Regions from separate parts of the Homo sapiens genome. Here region 1 is linked to region 2. The links are contacts of gene promoters, found by promoter capture Hi-C in blood cells and fetal thymus (Javierre and others, 2016). All regions are on one chromosome and are shown on one strand. The core of a region is centred on a gene start or on the middle of the fragment in contact, and the rest is flanking DNA. Distances in the headings are between cores, read along the strand shown.

What was found. Contacts are between HindIII fragments. The CHiCAGO score rates a contact against its expected background, and 5 or more counts as called.
Region 1: a contact is called between a fragment that was not itself captured here and the fragment with the promoter of SULT1C4 in region 2, in 1 of 17 cell types (erythroblasts). The highest score is 5.9, in erythroblasts.

What each region holds. Positions count from the first base shown.
Region 1 is chr2:108,575,571-108,582,259 of GRCh38, forward strand. All of the region lies in intron 1 of LIMS1 (LIM zinc finger domain containing 1), which reads left to right. Among named protein-coding and RNA genes, the nearest start is that of LIMS1, 44 kb to the left of the region's middle. RefSeq lists an enhancer at 1-486 and a silencer at 1-17. The HindIII fragment of the contact is 1,538 bases long and covers 2,977-4,514 here.
Region 2 is chr2:108,375,101-108,381,096 of GRCh38, forward strand. SULT1C4 (sulfotransferase family 1C member 4) reads left to right here and starts at 2,854. Exons shown (of 7, transcript NM_006588.4): 1 at 2,854-3,406. The coding sequence starts at 3,238. The HindIII fragment of the contact is 14,120 bases long and covers 1-5,996 here.

The DNA of each region.
Region 1 (6,689 bases), core at 2,496-4,995, 200 kb after region 2:
AATTCCTGCATTTGTCACCACTTAGTCACAGTCAGGCTATTGGGCTAAGTGGTCTGGGTGAACACTGATGTTAGAGTTGCAGGGTTTGCTGCAGCCCACCTCTTGTTCTCCAGCTTCCTTTTAGGCATCGTTTATTTTTATTCTTTAAAGTATTTTATGTTTTGATTTGTTATAACTATTGCAGAAATCAATCCTGAGTCATCAGGGTTGTTTAGTCTTTCTCCTTTTGTGCGTTTGTGTGTGTGTGGTATTATTCATTTTGGCTGTTTGGATGGCATGTGATACAGCATTTTTTATTTTGTAGCCAAAACCAAACCAAGAGGTTGCCAACAGGACAGAAAAAAGCAGCAAGATAATATTAATAGGCACGTGTGCTTGCACCTGATCAGGAAGCAGGCACCTGGGGCCAGGATTTGAAGTCTTTCTATACCTGGGAGTGGGGAAAGGCCTGGTCTTCATGTCAGTGTTAGTCTGGAAGTAGTGACAGAGACTTAGCAGTTACTGGGTTTTCCTACTCATTTTAGTACTGTTCTTGATAAGGTTTTAGTATTTATGTATGTGAAAATAACTTTTGAAGTCTTTAAGATCATCACCTTGACTGAACGAGAGCTAATAGGTTTTATTCATTCCTGCAAAAGGAATAGAATAGAACTTGTCATACTGGGTCAGTACCAGTTATGGGTCAACTAAGCAAGTTTTGTTTTGTTTTGTTTTGTTTTGTTGAGACAGGGTCTGTATTGCCCAGGCTGGTCTTGATCCTGGGCTCAAGCAATCCTCCTGCCTCAGCCTTCTGAGTAGCTGGAATTACAGGCATGCACCTCATTGGCTAACAAGTTGTTTTTCTTTTTGAGATGGAGTCTCGCCCTCTCACCCAGGCTGGAGTGCAGTGGCATGATCTTGGCTCACTGCGACCTCTGCCTCCCGGGTTCAAGCGATTCTTCTGCCTCAGCCTCCCGAGTAGCTGGGATTACAAGCACGTGCCACCACACCTGGCTAATTTTTGTATTTTTAGTAGAGACAGAGTTTCACCATATTGGCCAGGCTGGTCTCAAACTCCTGACCTCATGATCTGCCTGCCTTGGCCTCCCAGACTGCTGGGATTACAGGTGTGAGCCACCGTGCCTGGCCACAAGTTAAAGTGCCCTTTAGAGTGAGCCTTATGCCTCACATTACAGTGGCTAAGAAGCTAAGGGACAAAGTTCCCAGTCTCAGAGGTTATAATCTAGTAGGGAAGAGTAAATAAGTCTCAGATTTATCTTGATACATGGCAACATTTGGTAAATATCCTAAAAAGAGGTACAGAGCAATCAGGATTCAAGGACAGGGAGAACTCCCTGAGGTAGGAGGGAACGTGCCAACAGGAGTTTCTGGCCATCCCAAACAGGGATGCTCATGGCTGCCACAGCTTCACATTTCCTTATACCATTGTTTGATTTTCACTAGTATGTCCAAATTCCTTGAAAATGGGTTTTAAACTTCCAGAAAACAGTACGATCTCTCAGAACTGTGAGTGCACTCAACATGTTTTATGATTGACCTTTTCTTGTGTCTCCCTTGAACTATAAGCTCATTTGAAACTAGTTAACTGAGTCTTATTGCTGTTGCCTGAGAAGCTAGCACAGTGCCTGACACACTGTTAAGTCAGTGCTCTTTCAAGTTACTCCCTGAGAATTCCCTTTCCCTCTCCCACTTCGTGAACCACAGCTAATACAGACTCACTTCCGTGATGAACCCGGTAAGGCCTAGGCCTTTCTTGCTGCTGCTGCATTTCGCAGCGCTTTGCAGATGCTGCCTCTGCTGTGTCACGACAGAATATTGCAATATGTTTTGTGTGTACATCGCAGTCTAGGAAGTTACTCCGGGCTCTGCCTTAGTTATCCTTATGTGCCCCGTACCTATAGCAGTTAGTGATATGGTAGTCATTGGGTAAATATTCACTGAAATGAAAATGGAAGTTTTCAATGTGTATGTATTTGTTTTCTACTTACCCCTATTTTAATGGTACAGAGTGGGTAAGGGTAGGTTAACACTTGCATTTGCTCAAAAGTTAATTTTTACAATAACTAAATGTTTTTACATTCTTAAAATGTATTTTACATTCTTAACAAACATGAATCTATATTGTAGTACTTTATTTTTTAAGAGAGAGAGAAAAAAGGTGCTTCAGATGTTCTTACAAAGCTGTTTAGCATTTCTGGGAACTTAATAAAGTATTTTGGCTCAGCAGTTAAAAAATGAAAATCTATTTTTTCTGAGAAATAAAGTCTTGCCCATCTGTTCTCTCCTCTTACCGTGTGACTGTTAAATGCTATTCTGAGATTGTATGTTTTGTTTTGTTTTGTTTTGTTTTTTGAGACGGAGTCTTGTCTTGTTCTGTCGCCCGATCTAGAGTGCAGTGGCACAGTCTCGGCTCACTGCAACCTTCACCTCCCAGGTTCAAGTGATTCTCCTGCCTCAGCCTCCCGAGTAGCTGGGATTATAGATGTCCGCCACTGCGCCTGGCTAATTTTTGTATTTTTTAGTAGAGATGGGGTTTCACCATCTTGGCCAGGCTGGTCTCGAACTCCTGACCTCGTGATCCACCCGCCTTGGCCTCCCAAAGTGCTGGGATTACAGGCATGAGCCACCGCGCCCAGCCTGTATGTTTTGATACTATAGAGAGGTATACAATAAAATTGCCTGTTAGTCACCATTTCTAATTATGGTTCATTTTATCATTCAATTATTTTTAAGAGCTTATTAGCATGTGTATATGTAAAGATGTGTTTCATATATTTTTAATCTCTACATCCTTTCATATTTTGTTATACTCTCTTTAAATGCAAGCACTTATTTTGAAGTAGTTTTAAATGTTATAATATCTCCACCATATGAAATAAGGAATATCTGCACTTTCCTCCACCCCCTTCTCTGAGATTACTGCAGCCAGAAGGTTAATGCCTTAGCTGAACTCTTAAAAGCATTTCCGTTATCATAAGCTTAAGAAATGTTTGTCTTAGTTCATGGAATGTAAATAATTTTTTTTTTTTTTTTTTTTTTTGGAGACGGAGTCTCTCACTGTGGCCCAGGCTAGAATGCAGTGGCACGATCTCAGCTCACTGCAAGCTCCACCTCCCAGGTTCACGCCATTCTCCTGCCTCAGCCTCCCAAGTAGCTGGGACTACAGGTGCCCACCACCACGCCTGGCTAATTTTTTTGTATTTTTAGTAGAGATGGGGTTTCACTGTGTTAGCCAGGATGGTCTCAATCTCCTGACCTCGTGATCTGTCTGCCTCAGCCTCCCAAAGTGCTGGGATTACAGGCGTGAGCCATTGCTCCTGGTCATGAAATGTAAATAATTTTTAAATCTAGTTTACAAAGAAAAATGATGATGTAGGGATATCATTTTTTTGTTCCTCAAGAATAAATTTAGTCTTAAATTTCAGGTTAGCATCCTGGATTCATTATCCTATATCACTTTTTGGTATGCATTCATGGGATTTTGTAGGCAGTTTCATGCCAAAGTGTTGTGTTTTCCAAAGTCCAATTTTTTTTGACTGGTTTAACTAACATTCATTTTGAGATGATTCCAAATTTTGTAACAAAAACAACTTATATTTGAATTTTCACCTTTATAATTTTAAAAAATCTATTCTGTAGCCCTGAGATTTGGACAAAATGGTAATTATGTTATTTTATGGATATTAAAGCTGAATATAAAGAATTTTTATCGAACCAAGATGTCACAGCTCTTATAGTAAGTGGCATGATTAAGACTATAATTTTACTTGTACTCAGTGTACCTTCTACCACTATATAATGTTTCCAAGCATATGAACTTATTACTAGTCTGTATCTATGGTTTTCAGTGATGTTAAATGTGTTTTTAAAAATTTTATTAATATGTAATACACAAGAGTGCAAAAATCTTAAGTGCACAACTTAGGAATTTTCACAAAGCAAAAGCATGGTCAAATGATTTGGACTATGAATTAATATTAAAATACAATGAATTTAATATTGGATGCCTAGAGTCTCTTGATTCCAGAGAAATACATTTATTTTTAAACTTGTGTTACACTTCCCTGAATACTCATTTGAAGTGTTTCTGATTTCCTCATTTGCTCATTTGTTTGACAGTATTCACAGCGAGCCTGCCCTCTGCCAGGCATGACTGGCATGGGGCACAGCTGTGAACAGGAATCATCACTTGTAACTTGAGGTCAGACTAAAGGACACAGGCAAATTCCTGTGGAGCAAGAGGGCCTTCCGGAGAACTTCCCAGAGGAAGCGACCTCTTGACTGAGTCCGAGTGTGAATGGGAATCATCCCAAGAAGAGTTTAGGGAGGAAGGCAAGAGGCACCAGGCCAGGAGGGCTGTTGAGATGTGACAGGCAGATCCGCAGGGCTGCAGCCTGTGCAGTGAGGGCTGGAGCTGGGGGATGCCGGGTGGGAGCAAGGACAGCCAGGTCCGTTTTTACTGGCACTGTAGTTTCCTTGATTATCAACAACAGGAATAGACTCAGGCAAACAGAAGCTTCAAAGAAATTTACTGGAAAAATACTGGGGTTGCTCCCAGAATTGAAGAATGGGCTGAACTTACAGGTCTCTGAGAAGGGCAAACAACTAGGGCTTTCCCGGTGTCTCTGCAGAACTTGTGGGATGTCTCTATAGAGCAGTGCTCTGAGTTGACTTCCTCTAACTGCAGGGTGTTAGTCTCTACTCAGATTTCTAGTCTTTGAGAAATAGTATCTGATTAACTTAGTTCAAGTCCATAGTCCAAATGGACCAGGACCAGTCATTGTGGCCAGAGGATAGGAAGAAGCACCATGCCTAGTCAATCAAGGTAGGTGACTGTTAGGTGGTCAGGACAACTAGATCTGTTACCTGAAACAGAGAGTGGACGACATGGGTACCCATGTGGATGACATGACCACCCAGAAGGCAGTGTTACGGTAGCTCAGAGAAGAGGTGGTTTGGGAACAGTGATTAGGAAAGAGGGATGTTCAGAGGCCAGTTACAAGGCTGTTGCATTAATCCACATAGGAGGTGATGGTGCCAGAAGTAGATGCAGCCTGTACAGATATAAAGTAGTAAATCGATTCAGAAACAGTTAAGAGGCAGAGAAGAAAGGACTTTGCAGCTGGACATTGGGAGGTGTGTGAGGATGATTAAGTTGTTGAAGATGACTCTCAGGTTTCTCGCTTGGACTAGAACCATTGTGTTCATAGTGGTCCCTTGCATGGAGGAGAGAGAGTTTCAGGAGGGGGATGGGGCTTTCATTCAGTTATGAAGTAATAAGTTGGAGTATCTAAGCAGACCACATTTAATTTAAGAACACTTGGGTATGAACAACACTTCCCCATTAAATTACTTGTGGGGTTCCAGCTCTGCCATCAGGGCCCTCTCACTCCAGCATCGTGGCCTCTGCCAAGGTTGTTACTCTCTTTTTGTGTCCCTGGGCTGCTGAAATCTTCTCACCGTATTGCCATGGAATTTGTAACGTGCTTCCTTCTGCTTCCCTACCTTAGGCAGGTTTGGGTCTGAGTGGGTTTTGGAATGAGTATTGTTAAAGGAAGTTAAAATGAAGACCAGGCCTGTGAAATCTCTGAGCGCACAAAACCAGTTAGGCCTTATATGTTACCTCAGCCTTGCTTAAATTGCAGACATAAGCAGAACAAGTAGAGTCATTTTGATAAATGTTTATGTTAGAAGTAAAACTTAACCCCCGCCAGTCGTAAGCTGCCAACTAACATATGACTAAGTGACTAGGGGCTTTCCAACAAGGTACCTAAAAAAAGGCAATTCTGTAATTTCAAATCAATCAAATAATTTCTTTATTTTGCTTCTACGTTTCCCAGTAAATACTTGTCTCTGACTTTTTGTCATTGGGACACTAAAACTTTTTTCGTCTGGTGTTCCCCAATTCATGAATTGCTTCTTACTCAAATAAACTCTTTAAAATTGTATTGTTCCTCAGATTTTTCTTTTATAGTAACTTTCCCAAACTCAGAAAGGCCCCCAGAGCTTAGGGGCTTTTAGGACTAAGTGCTGCTATTTAGGGCTCTTTCTTAGATGTTATTATGTTTAGAAGAGGCTTGCTATAGGCTGGGCACGGTGGCTCATGCCTGTAATCCTAGCACTTTGGGAGGCCGAGGCAGGCAGATCACCTGAGGTCAGGAGTTCAAGACCAGCCTGACCAACGTGGTGAAACCCCATCGCTACTAAAAATACAAAATTACTCGGGAGTGGTGGCGCATGCCTGTAATCCCAGCTACTAGGGAGGCTGAGGCAAGAGAATTGCTTGAACCCAGGAGGCAGAGGTTGCAGTGAGCCAAGATTGTGCCATTGGACTCCAGCCTGGGCAACAAGAGTGAAACTCCATCTCAAAAAAAAAAAAAACAAACAAAAAATACTTGCTATATGATGACACTGTTTTCTTGATATAGTCAGAGTTTGAAAATATTTCAAGTTGGGGACTTCTTTGATTAAAATGTAAAGTTGATAAATGAATTTAGTTACAGTGCTTTAGTTTTACTAGTATTCAATGTTGTGTGATATTGATGAGTTAAGTCAAACCCTGACAAGCGGTTCCCTTAGGTACTTCAGTGAGTACTTCTAGCATTAATGCTTAATGGCCTCAGAAATCCTCTGGGTCTGTCGTCCTCAGCAGATCTGAAACTGTTCCCTAAGGAGCAAGTGGGAACTTG
Region 2 (5,996 bases), core at 1,604-4,103:
ACTCCACCTCCAGGGTTCAAGTGATTCTCCTGCCTCAACCTCCTGAGTAGTTGGGATTCCAGGCATGCACCATCACGCCTGGCTAATTTTTCTATTTTTAGTAGAGTCAGGGTTTCGCCATGTTGGCCTGGCTAGTCTCAAACTCCTGACCTCAGGTGATCTGCCCACCCTGGCCTCCCAAATGCTAGGATTACAGGCATGAGCCATCGCGCCTGGCCGGGTGTGTTTTAAAACAGTGTGCCGAGTCAAAACGTCTTTTAGACATATTCCTTTTTTTTAATTTTATTTATTTATTTTTTTTTTTGAGATGGAGTCTCACTCTGTTGCCCAGGCTGGAATGCAGTGGTGCGATCTTGGCTCACTGCAAGTTCCGCCTCCTGGGTTCATGCCATTCTCCTGCCTCAGCCTCCCGACTAGCTGGGACTACAGGCACCTGCCACCATATCCGGCTAATTTTTTGTATTTTTAGTAGAGACGGGGTTTCACCGTGTTAGCCAGGATGGTCTCAATCTCCTGACCTCGTGATCCACCTGCCTCGGCCTCCCAAAGTGCTGGGATTACAGGCATGAGCCACCATGCCCTGCCTACATATTCCTTTCGTAAAAAGCAAACAAACAGAGACCTGTTTAAGGGTAGTAACCAGCATGCTGGATTTTACTAACAAAAAAAGAGTTTGGAAACCCCAGTTACAAATTTTGCAAATGAATCACATTTGAGGCCTGAACAAGTTAGTAGTTTGCAAAAAGGACATCTAAAGCGCGTTAAGAGTTGGAATCTCCTCTCCATGCTCAGAAGCAAACAGTGACAGAGTTGAAAGGGAGGTTCAGGGAAGAATTAGAGGGGGAGAGTATATTAGCTTTATCTTGGGTACCCAATATATCCCAAGATTATAGGATACCTTATTTACATCCAACATTACATTAACCCTGTGAGATTAATAAAAAACGAAAGGCTCAGAAGAGATAAGTATTAGAAAAGTTACACAGCTATTAGGGGGCAGTTTAAATTCAAACCCATATATTTAGAATTCCAAAGCAATGCTTGTCAAATATAGACTTAGCACCAACTTTATTCTTATAATCACTAAATATATTTATTTAATTCTCCTAACCTCATGAGAAAGTACTATTGAGTAAAAACATTAAGTGAGAATAAGAGCAGTGTTTGTAGTCAAGATCACTTTTCAAATTATTTGGAACTTCCCATCTTCCCTGGATCTATTTTCAATCCCAGTCAGTCATCTTTGGGTCCAGAAGCATATCCTCCCCCATCTCCCAGCCCTCCCCCTCTAGCACACAACGCACTGGAGAAAACTGCTAAGGCATTGCTGAATATCTACCACTCTACTCTGATGGCACACAGGGCCAAAAAGATTATAGAATAAAATCTAACTGAAAAATTATAGGTGATTTTTATAAGTCTGTTTAAATGCATATGCATCCCAGGCATTCCACCTGGCAGTCTCTGTCTCAAGGGCCCATCCACCTCACCATGGTCTGGAGGGAGGGGATGAGGAATAGGGAAAGCCAAAGAATTGATCTTTTCTGAGTTTGCATCCAGAACATGGGCCACAGAGAAATGGTGAACAAAGTCACCCATTATTATTAACAGCTATGATTTATTCAACATTTCCCTGTTGCCAAGCATTAAATAAGCTGTTTTATCTCCCCACAACCATGAGGTAGATAATGTTAAGATCCCCAATTCAGACCTGAGGAAAAGCGTGATATGAAACAGAGAAAGATTCTGTAACCTGCCATTGCCCACAGCTACTGGGACTTGGCACAGGGTTCAAATACAGGCAGCCTGACTTCTCTCTGAAGGATGTCAAGCCACAGCCACCATACTCACCTAGTCCCCACATAATGATGGCCCAAGGAACTCGCTTCCTCAATTTTTGCTTAGTTTTACTCATTCATTCTTTCGAGAAATAGAAGAATGCCAGACACTAGGCATACAGCTATCAAACAGTGAGAAAACAACAGGCCCCATTTCATGTGCCTTAGAGTGTAGTGAAGGAGACAGAAAATGCCAACAAGTAAACACGCAAAAACTAACTGTCAATGGTTGCTCTAAAGGAACACAAAGTGCCATGAGCAAGGAAATAGGAGGGACCTACTTGAGATGACATAGAAAGTCAAAGAAGGCTTCTCCAGAAAGGGGGCATCAAAGCTGGGACACGAAGAAAGAGAATCAGACAGCCAGACACACAAGAGCCGACAAGATCTCCAGAAGGAGTGCTGCCATGGGGAGCAAGTGTGGCATGGCCCTGGGGTGCAGGCCAGGCCGGGGGCAGGGACTGAAGCAAGTTGTGAAATTTCTGATTATCAGGGGCAGAATGGATTCCTAAGGCAGCCACTGTCTTCTGTTAACTCTGGAGTTTTCTGCATCCCTTTTGCTTTAAATGAGGCATACATGTTTTCATAGCTGTGATGAAACCCCTACAATTCTCCAGTTTAGCATTATTTATTTTACTCTTAAAAAATAACAAAGCTGACCCTGGCAGATGTTTGTACTGGGAGATTCAGATCCATCCAGGCCCCCACTGTTAATAGCCCACGGGAAAGTCCCTGCAGTCTCTCAGGGAAGTCATTCTGTGTAGAATCTGTAATTTCACAGGCAAGTCCTGCAACTTTTTAATTGTTTAAAATTCCCAGAAGGAATAATTACTGAAATTATCTATGAAGGGTTTAATGGACACAGACATGAGAGCTATAAACAATGTGATACTATGTCCTGTTAACTCACAGAGAACGGAAGGGCTGGAACGGGACCCAGCCAGCAGGGTTTGTGACCGCCTCTGCTGTGACGTCACAGCCTGGTGAGGAGGGGGCTGCAGTTCCTCAGGAAACTGCCAGTGGACAAATTCATAAACAAGAGCTCCAGTTCCCTGGAACCTGAGTCGGGAGACCTGCAGCTCACTTTCTCCCTGTTTGCTGGCCAGCAGGGTTTGTGGCCGCCTCTGCTGTGACGCCACAGCCTGGTGAGGAGGGGGCTGCAGTTCCTCAGGAAACTGCCAGTGGACAAAGTCATAAACAAGAGTTCCAGTTCCCTGGAACCTGAGTCGGGAGGCCTGCAACTCACTTTCTCCCTGTTTGCTGGCCCAGACAGGCCTGTGCTAGAGGGCTGGATAGTGTGGTAGTGTGGTGGATAGAGTGCTGCCTCTATCCACAACGCAGCCATATGCTGACTGAAGATAACTTTGTGTCTGGAAGAGCCCTCTGATTTCTTACACTAATGGCCTTACACGACATGGAGGATTTTACATTTGATGGAACAAAGCGCTTAAGTGTCAACTACGTGAAGGGAATTCTTCAACCGACAGACACCTGTGACATCTGGGATAAGATCTGGAACTTCCAAGCCAAGCCTGATGACCTGCTTATTTCTACCTATCCTAAAGCAGGTAGGTGGAAGGGCTTGCAGGGGAAGGGGAAGAGGAGAGTTAGGAAGGTAAGTGGAAGTATGCATTAGTCATGAAATAAAGAAGTTGATCTGGAAAACTCTGGACAGAGTGATATGGCTAAGGAAAGTTACTAGTGGAAACTGAAGCTATACCGAAACATACTAAAATGACATACAAATTTTTAGAATTCAATCTTCCTATGATACTATGATGTACTTCCTTTTTTTTTTTTTTTCACTTTCCCAGGAGAGAGTGAAAACAGTTAAGAGCAAAAGGGTAGACTTGTTTATTTATTCATTCCCAATCTAGGCCCTTATTGTAGATCTTGTAAAAAGCTGCTTTGAGTGTGTGAGCTAGAAAGGTGATCCTGAGTCTGATTTGGGAAAGAAATAGGGGAGCTTTGGTTCTGCAATGCTGATATCACCTCAGCAGCCCTCCCATCTCAGGGTCTGAGAACCATCCTTCTGATTTCCACCTTCCTTTGTGGTAAGTTTTGAACCAACTGCCTTATCTCAACAATCAGTTTAACAAAGTTGTCTGTAAAAGTAGGACTAGCTTAAGCCGAGCCACCACGTCATAAAAATTGGGTGATGATGAGGTGGAAATAGTTCTCTATAAATATTTTTGCATATCTACATATCTACTAGAAATACATTACTGGGTCCACACACAAATTGTATATACATTTGCTCTTTGCAAAATCAAGCTGTCAAAAACTCTTGTTATACACACACAAACACACACACATCAAAAAATCTAAACCTCAGTATTTTCTGAGACTGTTCAAAATCCTCTTTTGTTCTTATCTCTCAAGATCCTGACAGAAGATTCTGCAGGCACATGGAGGCCTTGGTCTCTTCTTTGTCCATCTGTTTCATTTTGGTCCTGATTTCCCAATCTTACTCATCAGGAGCCCATTCAGGATCAAATTTTTCTGAATGTAAATTTCTAAAAGTAGCCACTGGTGAGGATCACATCTCATCATCTTAATTTCATTGACAATTCCACTTGATTATCAATTCAATACATAAATAATCTTTTCTCTATCTGCCAAACGCAAGTACAAAGATATGGTTCATTTAGGTTTTTCATGGCATTAATGAGGTTTAAGCAATTCAAAAAGCACACTAAGAAAATTAAATACTTGCCATCTAAAGTAATATTTAATCATAACTAAAACCATATACATTAATGAAGGCTATTTTATTAGAAGGAAGAAGAAACAAGCATAGATGGCAAAAATAGTTCACCCTAAATTTTTAAAAGAATAATACTCTGAATGACACAAGAAAAAAATACATCATAGAATCACTGGCCTCTAGAGAATAAATTGAGAAGTCATTCCACTCACCCCGGAGCCTCTAGCAACATTTGAATCTGCCCTCATGTTGGCTCATGTCTATAAATTCATTCAATTCATTCATTATAGACATTCAGTGTTATGGCTATAAATTCCCATAAAACTAGTACAAATGGCTGGACTATTCTTTGCATGGATAGCTAAAGATATCTTGGCCCTTTGTCCTGTAATAAAAGTTGCTGCCAGAAAATACAGGAGACCAACTACTATAAAATATAAAATGTAATTTAATTTTTTTCTAACCTATGCCCTTATTCTAGGCCTTTAAAAGCACTAAATTGAGAATATGGGAAAAGGAATCTATAGAGTTTCGGCCAGATAATACAGGAAAGATCAACCTAGATCAGGATTCAGAAAGCCATCCTGGCTAGGCATGGTGGCTCACACCTGTAATCCCATCACTTTGGGAGGCCAAGACAGGGGGATCTTTTGAGGCTAGAAGATTGAGACCAGCCTGGGCAACATAGGGAGACTCCTATGTACAAAAAAAAAATAAAAATTAGCCAGGCATGGTGGTGTGCACTCACAGTCCTAGCTATTTGGGAGGTTGAAGCAAGAGGACCATTGAGCCCAGGAGTTGGAGGCTGCACTGAGCTAGGATCCCACCACTGTACTCCAGCCTGGGCAACAGAGCAAGACCCTGTCTCTGGAAAAATAAAAAATAAAAAAAGCCATCCTAAAATAACTCAACATCCTCCTAACCTGGATTTTGCCAGAACATCTGGTGCAACAGATCTTCATCAAAGGGTGAAGATTATGTTGATAGCACAATATCACTGTATCAGTCAGGATCAGTGCAAGACACAGACAGACTGAAGCTGGGGGATACCATTCTACCTATGGCCACAGTGGCAGTGGTTGGGTCTAGGGCACTGGGCCATGGAACGTGGAATGGTCTCTGCAAAATTTCTATCTGCTGGGGCTACTATCAGCAGCCACCACCTCAGGAAGGATGACTTCTATCTCCCCACTGCCTTCCAAAACTCAGGCTAATGCATCTCACTGGAGGGATCTAAATAGCCTTCAGAATCTTAGTGGCAAAGGAGTTTAGGGAAGGCCTTTTACAGCCTTTCAGCCCATGAGATATGGGGGAAACAGAGAAAGGCGAAAAATTGAATACTAAGTGCTAATGGTCAATATCAAGTTCAAGCCCTAATGGTTCACTCATTCAGCCAACAAATACTAAGTGTCTCCTACGCTATGCAACTGGGAAAAAGAGAGTTTGAAAAT